2 separate regions of the Homo sapiens genome follow, and region 2 is linked to region 1. The links are contacts of gene promoters, found by promoter capture Hi-C in blood cells and fetal thymus (Javierre and others, 2016). All regions are on one chromosome and are shown on one strand. Each heading gives the region's core, a stretch centred on a gene start or on the middle of the fragment in contact. The rest is flanking DNA. Distances are from core to core; before and after follow the strand shown. Region 1 holds the start of TERF2IP (TERF2 interacting protein). Region 2 holds the start of GINS3 (GINS complex subunit 3).

The links. The method cuts DNA at HindIII sites, captures the fragments that hold promoters and counts their contacts. A CHiCAGO score of 5 or more calls a contact.
Region 2: a contact is called between the fragment with the promoter of GINS3 here and the fragment with the promoter of TERF2IP in region 1, in 1 of 17 cell types (monocytes). The highest score is 6.2, in monocytes.

What each region holds. Positions count from the first base shown.
Region 1 is chr16:75,643,748-75,651,112 of GRCh38, reverse strand. It overlaps TERF2IP (TERF2 interacting protein), which reads right to left and starts at 3,340. Exons shown (of 3, transcript NM_018975.4): 1 at 2,561-3,340. The coding sequence starts at 3,230. KARS1 (lysyl-tRNA synthetase 1) reads left to right here and starts at 3,448. Exons shown (of 14, transcript NM_005548.3): 1 at 3,448-3,535. The coding sequence starts at 3,474. RefSeq lists enhancers at 805-884, 1,463-2,418, 2,216-2,485, 2,419-3,376, 3,416-3,595 and a silencer at 2,796-2,915. The HindIII fragment of the contact is 3,802 bases long and covers 1,833-5,634 here.
Region 2 is chr16:58,390,636-58,397,295 of GRCh38, reverse strand. It overlaps GINS3 (GINS complex subunit 3), which reads right to left and starts at 4,825. Exons shown (of 3, transcript NM_022770.4): 1 at 4,509-4,825. The coding sequence starts at 4,694. RefSeq lists enhancers at 1,358-2,003, 4,032-4,608, 4,513-5,002, 4,609-5,186. The HindIII fragment of the contact is 2,062 bases long and covers 3,996-6,057 here.

The DNA.
Region 1 (7,365 bases), core at 2,091-4,590:
TTCATAACTTATCACCATGCTAATATTTTTACTTTTTTTCTTCTGGCAAATCAGGCAGCATCCTGAACCACAAATGGTTCAGAGCAACTCCCACCATACTGATATATTCATTCATATCTTCTCTTACTCATTTTAGAATTTTTTAATTTTTACATTTAAATATCTGATTATCAAAAGATTACTTAGATGGGTAGGATGAATACAGCTTAATTTTGTCCCAAGTTCCAAATGGCTTGCCAATAGCCCCAACATCACGGATTTAAAAGCAAGTCCCAGACACAGCATGGTGGCTCACACCTGGAATCCTAGCACTTTTGGGAGGCCAAGTCGGGCAGATCCCTTGAGCCCAGGAGTTCGAGACCAGCCTGGGCAACACGGCCAAATCCTGTCTCTACAAAAAAATACAAAAATTAGCTAGGTATGGTGACGAGTGCCTGTAGTCCCAGCTACTTGGAAAGCTGAGGTGGGAGGATCCACTGAGCCTGGGAAGTCAAGGCTGCAGTGAGCCGTGATCGCACTACCGCACTCCAGCCTGTGTGACAGAGCAAGACCCCATCTCAAGATATATAATAAAATTAAAATAAAATAAAAATAAAAGCAAGGCCATACATGATGACATACTTCACCCATACACATAGCCCTAACCTCATCTGCTATAATTAATTCTCCCTCCTACTCCATTAACAGCCACTCTGTTCTCTTTGTGGCTCCAAACACACCAGCCATACTCCCACCTAAGGGCGATTGCCCTGGCTTCTTCCTCTGCCTGAACACTCTTCCCCAGATATCCACCTGGGTTGCTCTTTCACTTCCTTCGGTCTCTGCTTAAACATCAGCTTATGAGAATGACCTTCTCTTATCATCCTATAGGAAAAACCTCCTCCCCAACCCTTACACTCTGAATTATTTTTCTCTATAGCCCTTACCACTCCCCAGCTAGCATGTTATAAGCTCCAGGACCACAGGGACTTTTATTTATTGTTATATTCCAGCAGGACCACAATGTCTGGCACTCAAATTTCTGCTGAATGAATGAAGCTGAAATGTCACTTTTACCAAAACAAAATTCCTACTAAGCATACTGAACAGGAGAAAAAGATTTTACTCCCCAGACTTCAAGTGTTAAATGGAGTAGTCATACAGGCAAAGAAAAGGTGGGAGGATTACGGAGGGGGAGGAGAAGCAGCATGCCTCTTTAAACAAAAGGGTCTATCGGTTTAAGTTATCAATGCCAGGTACGTCACCAAGTACATCTTAACAGACTCGTTCTGTATCCTAGACATACTGAACCCCAATTTTCAATTCAACTGCATTAAAAACTCACTTCACCTAAGCAAGACCAGGAAGAGACCTTCCAACTGCCGAGAACCTTCTTAAGTCCATAGGCATTCAGTTACGCCAGAGCATTAAAGTAAGTCTGGTACGCCTTTATACTGAATCTACCTGAACATAACAGCAATCTTTTTTAAAAAGGAGTCTGTGGAATATCTCTTAAAAGAAACACAAGAAGCCAGTTAGCCCGTGGGTAGCTGGTGGACAGGAAGGACGAGATAATTTTTTTTTTTTTTTGAGATGGAGTCTTGCTCTGTCACCCACGCTGGAGAGCAGTGGCGCAGTCTCGGCTCACTGCAACCTCCGCCCCCCGGGTTCAAGCAATTCTCCTGCCTCAGCCTCCTGAGTAGCTGGGACTACAGGAACTCTCCGCCACGGCCGGCTAATTTTTGTATTTTTAGTAGGGGCGGCATTTCGCCATGTTGGTCAGGCTCGTCTCGATCTCCTTACCTCAGGTGATCCGCCCGCCTCGGCCTCCCAAAGTGCTGGGATTACAAGCTTGAGCCGCCGCGCCCGGCCAAGAGAGAATTTTCTATATACTTTTTGTAACTTTTGAATATAGAACCATGTCAATATTCTAGTCAATGGTAAAGTAAATTAAAACTAGACCAAGAAGCTGGGTGTGATGGCTCACGCCTGTAATCCCAACACTTTGGGACACCGAGACGGGAGGATCGCTTGAGCCCAAGAGTTCGAGACCTGTCAGGGCAACACAACGAGACCCCCATCTCTACAACAATTTTTTTTTTAATTTAGCGGGACGTGGTGGCGCGGGAGTGTAGTTCCAGCTACTTGGGAGGCTGAAGCCGGAGATTCGCTTGAGCCCAGGAGGTCCAGGATGCAGTAGGTCGTGATCGCGCGGCTGCATCACAGCCTGGGCGACGGAGCGAGCCCCCACTCAAAAATTAAAAAATAAAAACGACGAGAGGCCAGACGTGGTGGCTCACTCCTGTAATCCCAACACTTTGGGTGGCCGAGGCAGGAGGATCGCTTGAGCTCAGGAGTTCAGACCAGCTTAGGTAACAGAGACCCATCGCAAAAAAAGAACAATAATAAACAACAAGGGAGCGAGAAGGCAAGAAAATGGTGCAAATTTACCCGGATGTCAACAGGGGGCGGGGCCAAGCGCTGCTACCGAAGATGCCAAGATGGACGCCAGGCAGCCAGGAGAAAGATCCCAACCCCACCCGCGCAGATATCCGCGAGGCCCCGCGCTCAGCCTCCTCACCCCCGCTATCCGCGGCCTCCGGGTCCTCCTCCGCCTTCCGCTTGAGCTTCTGGGAGGAGGGGCTCACCGGCGCGTCCCCCAGCAGGTACTTATGCTCCTGGCCCCGCAGGTGCTTGAGGTAGCGGTCCTTCAGGGACTGCCACGAGTGCTGCGTGAGCGAGCTCTTCTCCATCGCTTTCCACAAGGCGTTACCGGTGACGGAGCTGGGCGAGCGGGCATTTTCCTTCACGTAGGTAAGGATGGCTACGTCGTCCGCATCCGTGAAGGCGATCCGCCCGGCGTGCCGCTGCGGCTCCGGCTCCGCGGCGCCCTCGGCCAGGGCCCCGGGCTTTGCTTCCGAGCCGGTGTCCGCCGCCGAGGCGGGGCCCAGCCGATAGGCCTCCAGCTCCAGCCTCTCGTTGCGCTCCACGCAGTCCAGGATGTACTGCGTGGAGATGAAATCACCCGAGGCCTCGGCCAGCGCCTCCCCGGGCTGGGCCAGCAGCACGGCCCCGGGCTCCTGCACTCGGCACACGGTGCCGCCGCCGTGCAGGATGAGCGTCGACAGCCGACGCTTGGCCGGGCTGGGCCGCACGTAGAAGGACATGGAGCTGCCGTCGTCCCTCACGAACAGAGTCGAGGAATGGGTGGGCCCGTTGGGGTCTTTGCCCAAATCCATCGCCTCCGCCATGTCTGACGCCGAGCACTACTAGAAGAGCTACCCCCTCGCGAGCGCCTGGCACACAGAGCTCAACTGACTGAGCTGTCACCGCAGACGCCTCTGCCGCGAAGCGCAGCACTGGGCCTGCGCAGCAGCAGCCGCGGCGCATCGAGAGTGCCCGCCCCCTCTCCCCCGGAAGAGGTGGGGCTTCGCACCTTGACCTGGAAATTAACGTACTATCCTCCTTACTTTTGGGTCGGGCCCTCCGGGAAGATGGCGGCCGTGCAGGCGGCCGAGGTGAAAGTGGATGGCAGCGAGCCGAAACTGAGCAAGAAGTGAGTGTCGCTGCGAGTCTTTAAAGCCTTTGCGGTAGGAGAGTCTGGGCTGGGAAGCGCCGCGAGGTTCCCACCAAGGCTGCTGTGCCGGGGCCTTCTTGCCGGCTCTCGTGGGTACGCACATGCTGAGACGTGGTGGCTGCGCCCTGCAGACCACGTACCCCGGGATACCCCGGGCACGCCGGCTCCCCGTTCCCAGCTGGCACCGGCGGGATGCTCCCTATCATACTCCTAGAGTTAAGAGACTGTGGAGGAGGAACTAGGACGAGAACTAAGAGTTATCAGAAAAGAAAAGCGAAACTTCCTGCTTAGCTTCATCCTCCTTTCTGAGAAATGCATTCTTTTGTTGAGCCACTCAGTAAACGTGGAAGTTGGAGAAATGTTAAATACCCTAGCTTTTCAGAAAGACCTTCAAAATTTTCTGGGCCTCACTAAGGTCATTCTGAACGTTATGTATTAAAAGGGATCAGTTCTAAAACTGTCATGCATCTACCCGTATGGGTTATTCAGTAGATACCTGTGAGTATTAAGTGATCAACGTCTAACAGTAGAGACCATCTTAATTCAGCCTGATATCTTTGTTAACCACTCCCAAATCCCTGGAGTATGTAGGTTAACATAGATAAGTCAGGATTAGCCACCCTTTAACTGGCTGTCTTATATTCTCATTAGCGTTCCCCATTTGAACCACAGAACACAGGTAATTGAGTGTTTTATCATTGCTAGGAAGATGGTACATAGTACCATTCCAGAGGCATACGAGAGGGCTTAATCCCCGTGGCGCGCACTTGTTATCCCAGCTACTCGGGAGACTGAGGCAGGAGAATCGCTTTAACCCAGGAGGCGGAGGTTGCAGTGTGCTGAAGTCGTGCCACTGCACTCCAGCCTGGGAGACTTGAGGTAGTGGTCCTTCAGGGACTGCCAGAAGTGCTGCGTGAGCGAGCCCTTCTCCATCGCTTTCCCCAAGGAGTTACTGAGACGGAGCCAGACCCTGAATGAAAAAGAAAAGAGAAATGATGTTTCTTTTTTTTTTTTTTTAAGATGGAGTCTCGCTCTGTCGCCAGGCTGGAGTGCAGTGGCGCGATCTCAGCTCACTGCAACCTTCGCTGCCAGGGTTCAAGCGATTCTCCTGCCTCAGCCTCCCGAGTAGCTGGGATTACAGGCGTGTGCCACCATGGCTGGCCAATTTTTGTATTTTTAGTAGAGACAGGGTTTCACCATGTTGGGCAGGATGGTCTCAATCTCGTTACCTTGTGATCCGCCCACCTTGGCCTCCCAAAGTGCTGGGATGACAGGCGTGAGCCTGAGCCACCACCCCTGGCCTGATGTTTCCTTTTGTGTCCCTGGCTTTGTGCTTCAAATATCTTAGAAAAAGTATAAGAGAAATTGTCGAAGTTTATAGTTGGGTAGGACCTTAATATATTGTCCTTTATTAGAGCAATCCGATGGACTTCCATAAAAGTTTGGAACCTGGTCTTTGGACTGCTACCTTAGAGAAAATTGACTTGACTTTATTAAGTCAAATTTAATTGAATGTGGTATATCTGTGATATACGATCCTAAAGTTTAGTTCATTCTTTCAAACCACCTATGATAATCAATTACATTGAATTGAACTTTAGGACTGTATATCACAGGTGAAAGCACGGTTTCCAGTTCAGAGTGTGTTTTTAGGTAAACGGAAAAAACTGGTTAATTCCTCTTTACTGACTTTTTTTTTTTTTTTTTTTTTTTGGAGGCAGAGTCGTTGTTGCCCCGGCTGGATTGCAGCGGTGCGATTTCAGCCCACGGCAACTTGCAACTCCCGGGTTCAAGCAATTCTGGTGCTTCAGCCTCCCAAGTACCTGGGACTACAGGTGCATGCCACAACACCCGGTTAAATTTTTGTGTTTTAGTAGAGACGGGATTTGACCTTGTTGCCCAGGCTGGCGTCAAACTGCTGAGCTCAGGTGATCCGTCCGCCTCAACCCCACAAAGCGCTAGGATTATAGGCGTGAGCCACCACTCCCTGCTTCACTGACTTTTCTAAAATTAAATACAGCTACTACTTTTTTGACCAGCTTTTCTGTGCCAGGCACAATGCTAGATCTCTACAAGCTTTCTGTCTAGTGTCAGTAATAACCTTGCAAGAGGAGTTATTGTCCATTTTTCAAATTAATAAACTGAGGTCCTAGTAATTAAATGCACTATTAAAGTGTGCATTCCTAAAATATAGTCTAGCAGTGATCCAGAGCACTGGAGCACGGATCTGAACTCAGGCCTGTGACTCCACAGTCCATGCTCTGTATCCTGACTGCACAGCACTACTCACGTTGTCTTACCTGTCATTGATGTCTATTCCTCTCGTTACCATGAGCTAAAATAATTTTTTTCTGATTAACATTTCCTTCCGTTTATTGTTCTGGGGAATTCCTTGGTCTGAAATTTTTAGTAAGCACCATTTTGTGCCAGGTATTGACTCCAAGTTTAAAAGCAGATGTGCTCCCTGCCCGAGTGAAATAGCCTCCTCAAATTTATTTGAACACGGTAAAGAAGGTGATCTCTGTAATTCTGTTGCCTTCCAGTGTTGATAATGTATAAACATAACGCAGTCTAAGGACCTTCCTGAAATTCTCCTTTCCCCTTGTTCCTAGAGTTCCAAACAAGTCTTCTCTTTGACACGTATTTTTGTGTGGCTTGCATTTATCTTTGTCTAGAGTTTGCAATTGATAGTGACAGTTTCCTCTTATTTTATATGCTTCCTATTGCCATCTTGTGGCCAGGTATTTCCTCTCCAGGTGAGAAACCACACTTCAGGGCTTCAGAAAGTGCCTCACATCCTGTTCCCATATTCTAGGATGTTGTGAGCAATTTTACCTGTAAGCTATCCATTAACTTGCTGTTGGCTTTACCCCAGATATGCATGTTTTTTCCATAGTCAGGACTAAGAACATTGTCAGTTACAGTTGTAGCACAGAGAGTGTTACAGGGTTGCTATCAGTTAAGACAGTCTTAAGTTAAATGGGACTAAAAGGTAGTAGAAGCATGGTCCCCCTCCCCAACCCATAAGAGAGTTGGTTGGGTATATGTATACTGTCTGTCCCATCTGACACCACATCTCTGTGTTTCCCGCTAGGTGGTGGTAATCATTAGTTCCAGGGTGCTCTGCCATGTTGACGCAAGCTGCTGTAAGGCTTGTTAGGGGGTCCCTGCGCAAAACCTCCTGGGCAGAGTGGGGTCACAGGGAACTGCGACTGGGTCAACTTGCTCCTTTCACAGCGCCTCACAAGGACAAGTCATTTTCTGATCAAAGAAGGTTGGTGCCCATTACCTTCTTTATTGCTCTGGAAGCAAAAATTATTTCCTTACTTGGTTCATTTTCCGTTAAGCCTCTGGCTAAGTCTTTGGACTTGTTGCTAAGGAAACAAGGAGCCCTAATACCAAAACCAATAGTCCTTTCTCATTTTCTCTTTAATAAATTCAAATCGTCTCTCCTTAGAGTCTTGAGATGACATGTGGATCTTATTCTAGAAGAGTGCTAAGAACAAAACCTTTGTTTGAACAAATAATTTCTAATGCCAGCTATTTCCCTTTTCTGTCTTTCTGGAGTTTTGTGTGCTCTTGAGATTAATTTGGTTTCTAGTCTTAGTGCTATCCCTAGGACCTTTTTGGATTATCCTTAAGATTGATTTGATTTAAGAGGAGCACCTGGTTGAGTGGAAAACAGATTTATCTTAATTCTAGAAGAACTAGACAGCCTAATCTTAGCAGTCCACTGACTGAATTATAGCATGATAACACCAGCACAGTGTTTTGGAAAGGTTGTCTTTACAAATGTTATAAGACATTAT
Region 2 (6,660 bases), core at 3,576-6,075, about 17 Mb after region 1:
CGGCCGCCCATCGTCTGAGATGTGGGGAGTGCCTCTGCCCTGCTGCCCCGTCTGGGATGTGAGGAGCATCTCTGCCCGGCCGCCCCGTCTGAGAAGTGAGGAGACCCTCTGCCTGGCAACCACCCCGTCTGAGAAGTGAGGAGCCCCTCCGCCCGGCAGCTACACCGTCTGGGAAGTGAGGAGCGTCTCCGCCCGGCAGCCACCCCATCCAGGAGGGAGGTGGGGGTCAGCCCCCCGCCCGGCCAGCCGCCCTGTCCGGAAGGGAGGTGGGGGGGTCAGCCCCCCGCCCAGCCAGCCGCCCTCTCCTGGAGGTGAGGGGCGCCTCTGCCCGGCCACCCCTACTGGGATGTGAGGAGCACCTCTGCCCGGCCAGCCGCCCCGTCCGGGAAGGAGGTGGGGGGGTCAGCCCCCCGCCCGGCCAGCCGCCCCGTCCGGGAGGTGAGGGGCGCCTCTGCCCGGCCGCCCCTACTGGGAAGTGAGGAGCCCCTCTGCCCGGCCAGCCGCCCTGTCCGGGAAGGAGGTGGGGGGGTCAGCCCCCCGCCCGGCCAGCCGCCCCGTCCGGGAGGGAGGTGGGGAGGTCAGCCCCCCGCCCGGCCAGCCGCCCCGTCCGGGAGGGAGGTCGGGGGGTCAGCCCACCGCCCGGCCAGCCGCCCCGTCCGGGAAGGGAGGTGGGGGGATCAGCCCCCCGCCCGGCCAGCCGCCCCGTCCGGGAGGGAGGTGGGGGGGATCAGCCCCCGCCCGACCAGCCGCCCCGTCCGGGAGGGAGGTGGGGGGGTCAGCCCCCGCCCGGCCAGCCTCCCCGTCCGGGAGGTGAGGGGCGCCTCTGCCCGGCCGCCCCTACTGGGAAGTGAGGAGCCCCTCTGCCCAGCCAGCCGCCCCGTCCGGGAGGGAGGTGGGGGGGTCAGCCCCCTGCCCGGCCAGCCGCCCCATCCGGGAGGTGAGGGGCGCCTCTGCCCGGCCGCCCCTACTGGTAAGTGAGGAGCCCCTCTGCCCGGCCAGCCGCCCCGTCCGGGAGGGAGGTGGGGGAGTCAGCCCCCCACCCGGCCAGCCGCCCCGTCTGGGAGGTGAGGGGCGCCTCTGCCCGGCCGCCCCTACTGGTAAGTGAGGAGCCCCTCTGCCCGGCCAGCCGCCCCGTCCAAGAGGGAGGTGGGGGGGTCAGCCCCCCACCCAGCCAGCCGCCCCGTCCGGGAGGGAGGTGGGGGAGTCAGCCCCCCGCCCGGCCAGCCGCCCCGTCCGGGAGGTGAGGGGCGCCTCTGCCCGGCCGCCCCTACTGGAAAGTGAGGAGCCCCTCTGCCCAGCCAGCCGCCCTGTCCGGGAGGGAGGTGGGGGGGCCAGCCCCCCGCCCAGCCAGCCGCCCCGTCCGGGAGGTGAGGGGCACCTCTGCCCGGCCGCCCCTACTGGGAAGTGAGGAGCCCCTCTGCCCGGCCACCACCCCGTCTGGGAGGTGTACTCAACAGCTCATTGAGAACGGGCCAGGATGACAATGGCGGCTTTGTGGAATAGAAAGGGGGGAAAGGTGGGGAAAAGATTGAGAAATCGGATGGTTGCTGTGTCTGTGTAGAAACAAGTAGACGTGGGAGACTTTTCATTTTGTTCTGTACTAAGAAAAATTCTTCTGCCTTGGGATCCTGTTGATCTGTGACCTTACCCCCAACCCTGTGCTCTCTGAAACATATGCTGTGTCCACTCAGGGGTTGAATGGATTAAGGGTGGTGCAAGATGTGCTTTGTTAAACAGATGCTTGAAGGCAGCATGCTCGTTAAGAGTCATCACCACTCCCTAATCTCAAGTACCCAGGGACACAAACACTGCGGAAGGCCGCAGGGTCCTCTGCCTAGGAAAACCAGAGACCTTTGTTCACTTGTTTATCTGCTTGACCTTCCCTCCACTATTGTCCTGTGACCCTGCCAAATCCCCCTTTGCGAGAAACACCCAAGAATGATCAATTAAAAAAAAAATATATATATATATATACAAATATTACAGAAGAATTTCAAATGTACAAATAGAAAAAAAAAAAAAAGAAAATTTAGACAAAAAAAAAATACAAAAATTAGCTGGACATGGTGGCATGTACCTGCAATACCAGCCACATAGGTGGCTGAGGTGGGAGGATCTCTGGAGCCTGGGAGGTCAAGGCTGCAGTGAGCCATATCACACCACTGCACTCCAGCCTGGGCAACAGAGCAAAACCCTGTCTCAAAAAAAAAAAAAAAAAATTAGATAAAATGGTCAAAGTTTTAGTTAAAAACCAAATATACCAAAACTAACACAAGAAGAAATCAAGTCTGAATAATCCTATAAATGAAATTAAATGTCATACAAACCTTCCTACACAAATCTCCCATGCAGAAGGATTCTAAAGATTTAATGTAGACACTCTGCACTCAAAGAAGTGGAACATAACTCCCTACTCCTTCAGTGTGACAGTGATAATGACTTCCATCCAAAGAGTACAGTATGAAAAGGTGGAGAAACCTAATGAACATTACCTCTGCCAAGGTTCAAATGAACAGTACAAAGTCCTGTTGATAGTAGGCACCCTTAATATGTGATGAAAATGGCACTTTACCTCTGTGGTCTTCCTCCCTAAAGCTGATAATCAAGTCTAATGCTGAGAAAAAAAGAATAAAAAACAAAAACAAAGAAGGCTGGGCGAGGTGGCTTACGCCTGTAATCCCAGTACTTTGGGAGGCTGAGTTGGGTGGATCACTTGAAGTCAGGAGTTCCAGACCAGCCTGGCCAACCTGGTGAAACCTCATCTCTACTAAAAATACAAAAATTGGCTGGGTGTGGTGGTGGGCGCCTGTAATCTCAGCTACTTGGGAGGCTGAGGCAGAATTGCTTGAACCCAGGAGGTGGAGGAGGCTGCAGTGAGCTGAGATTATGCCACTGCACTCTGGCCTAGATGACAGGGTAACTCCGTGTCAAAAAAACAAACAAAAAAACAAAACCAAAAACAAAACTACCCCCAAACCAAAGATTTCCAACTGAGGAACATTTTACAAAATACCTGACCACCACTCCACAAAACCGTCGAGGTCATTAGAACAAGGAGGTCTGATTAATTGTCACAACCAAGAGAAGGCTAAGGAAACATGTCTACTAAATGCAGTGTGGTATCCTAGGTGGAATCCTAGAATAGAAAAAGGGCATTAACTAAAAACTAAGGAAATATGAATTAAGTATGGGCAGCATAGCGCCATGTTTACCAGTGTGTATGGGAACGAAATCCTCATCTGCTAGGATGAAGTCAACAGATAATGTCTACATTAAAAAAAACAACCCAACAAGGTAAGTTTAAGAATATTATTTAGAAATATGAAGATGAATCTTGAAGACACCACTAAAAAAGGTACATGAGCCCTGTGGACTTGGAGGGGGAAGTGGGAAAAGGAAGGCAGGACCTGCTATTTTTTTTCTTATAAATCTTTTGGTACTATTTGACTTTTTTTTTTTTTTTTTTTGAGATGGAGTCTCACTCTGTCGCCAGGCTGGAGTGCAGTGGCACAGTCTCGGCTCACTGCAACCTCTGCCTCCTGGGTTCAAGAAATTCTCCTGCCTCAGCCTCCAGAGTAGCTGAGATTACAGGCGCCGGCCACCACACCCAGCTTTCTAGTAGAGATGGGGTTTCACCATGTTGGCCAGGATGGTCTGGATCTCTTGACCTCGTGATCCGCCCGCCTCAGCCTCCCAAAGTGCTGGGATTACAGGCGTGAGCCACCGCATCCGGCCTATTTGACTTTTAAAACGTTGGTTATGTATTACTTTGATAAAAATTAACTTGAAACAAACAGACCAAACAATAAACATCGTTCTATACAAAACTTAGGTGAAACAGGATATCCAAATTAATCATTACAAGCCATGTTCCTGGGACAATTTTATATTTGAAGCCATATGGCCTTGGGTTCCGAATCCCAGCTCACCACTAACTGAAGCCCTGGCCAAGTGACCCAGCCTTTCTGGTTGCTGAAGGATTAAAGGGAAAAGCTTACTCCCCACACCCAACCATGCTGCCACTAAGTAAGCCTCAGTAGGGCTTACTGATCCTGTCATCATTATGGAGGAATGAATTTAGCAACTTGGGGTTCCTACTTATCACATGCTCTTACAGAACCCAAAGCTGTTTTAAGGCAAACATGATCAGAACTCTAATTCTTAAGTATTCAGCTGGAGCCAATCTTTAAGCATTCAACACACGTTGCATGGGGTAGGGGGAAGACACTAATTTGGACAGTTTCAAAAAAGAAATCAATGTTGGAGGCTGCCTGGCGACCTAGGATAAATGTAGTTTCACCACAGATGGCGAACAAGAAGTCTGGAGACCACCCCGAGCGCGAAGGGACCCCCGCGGAGTTTCCGAGAAGTCGTTAGCGCCTTCGGCCCTGGCTCCTCGAAAACTACAAATCCCAAAGGGCAGCGCGCCCCGATGCGGCGTCCCAGGGCCGAGGGGCCCGCCGGGAGCTGCAGTCTTTCCGGGCAGGACCCCGCACCCAAAGGCTCACCTGTGGGACCGCGTTGTCAGTCTCGGCGCCTGCGCTCCGCTCCAGGAAGAAAGCGCCAAGGCGAGGCATGGCGGTCTCCGTGCGCACCGGCAGCTTCTCGTGGGACATCAGGATGTCGTCCAAAGAAAGAAAGTTCTCCTCAGGCCCCAGCGCACCCGACTCCACTCGGAAATAAGCCTCTGACATGGCGGCCACTTGAGCTTCTCCGCTTCCACTCGCGTGATTCGGAGGAGCCTCAGGAGTTAGGGGTGTACAAGACGGGGAAGCGGAGACTGGGCAGGATGGTTGGGGTCAGGAAAGTGGATTGAAACTCGTTTCCCGCGCCCGGGGACGCATCAGACAGGAGCAGTCAATTCGGGCGGTACCGCCCAGGCAGAAGCAATCGATCAAGTCTGCAGATTTAGAGCAGCGGGACACGGCTGGGGAGCGGTAGGTGGGGGCGCCGGAAGTTCTCTTCCCTCCGCTTGCTGCACGGTGTGGGAACGTTACGAAGAAGCTGGAACGCTCGTTGAAGCTCCTGGACCCATTTGTACTGGATTGTGTTCATGTGATCCTTAACTATTTATATGAAATTAAAAACACTTTGCAACACTTTTAGGGGTTTAAAATAAAAGCATCTTGTGCCCTTCACTCCAGGCCTAAGTCCGACCCTTTCCTACAGTTTTTTTCACTATGCAACTCCGTTAATCTTAGTATTTGAAAGAAATGTTAAACAAACAAAAACTTCCAGCACTATCCCCAGCGAGTTATTATGGTCTAGATGATGAACTAGTGTGTTGTATTTTGTTAGTATTTTGGTGGGGGTTGGACGGGGTGGGTAGAGGGGTGGAGCACTAGACTGCACATGGCTTGCTAAGGTTGTGAGTATACTTCAGGGTGTCTTAGCTCATCATCAACTGACAATCTCCTTTTGTGGCTCTGAATTTAAATCCCTAAAAATGGAAATCCAATTGGTCCAGTTTATTGATTGGTCCAGGTACGCCACAATGGTCATAGATCTCCAGCCACCCTGTAGATGGGGGTGCCTGTGTTGGGTGCGATCACTATCCAGTGACCAGGGGAAGGACCATGGTCGCATAGTACCAGGTTTGGTGGCTCTCCTCAGCCAGGGCTATGGGTGGCGGCATATTGTTGAGAGATGCACTACAGAACTTACTTCGTCTAGAGCATTTCTGGGGCTACTGGAGCCGGGAGTAAAGGGTGTGTGTGAAGGGAGGTGTGTATTAACCATGGATTTTAGTTTCTGTTTTCTGTATTTTATGATGCTTTGACATCTTGGGGCCTTGGGGACCTGGGGAGGAATTGCCCCTTTCAGAGTTAGCTAATTCCTAGAGATAGCAAACAACTTGCTTGTGAACACCCCTTTCATTTACAAACCAACCAACCCAAGCCTATATCCCCACACCATCTTTATCCATCTCACACACCAATATTTTCCCTGCCCCAAGTCACTGTAATAAACCACCCCATGGCCAAGTACCAGACAACTAAAATTCACCTCTATATCCCAGAGCTTGCCAACATTATTCAAATTATTCAATCCTAAGCTTGTTCAGACTTCCCTTCCCTGCTTCGCCCATTCCTTCCCACGGCAATAAAGGCTCTGGGCTTTCTCCTCGCTCTCTCTACCTCCTCATTGACCCTAATACTTTCTCGTGTGGCCGTAGGCACAGCCCCTTCTCTTGAGAACTATAATAAAATTTTCAAAGGCATTGGCCACTAACTCATTGATTGTCATCACCCAGTCACCTTTATAAATGAAATTCTGAGGACAATGAAAACAAGGTGCAGTGGGGTGGAAAGGAATGGCCAAACTGTGGAAAATCTTGGTACCATTCTAAGGAGTTAGGCCATTCCATAGAAAATGGGAGGAAAATGTAAGGCAAATAATAACATAAATCTGGGCTTCAGGAAGAGAATTCCAGCAGTAGATAAAGAAGAGAGAGATTAGATGCTTGGAAGCTGTTCAGTGGGCAGTATTTGGCAACCAATTGGATATAGGAAGTGAAGTATAGTGAGTAGTCAAAAGATTCAAGTTTTGAACGTGGCTGACCAGGTGGATGGACATGTCATGAATAGATACACAGAACACAGGAATAGGGGCAGCTGGAGGGAAGGGATGAGTTCAGTTTGGGACACATGGTGTCCAAGA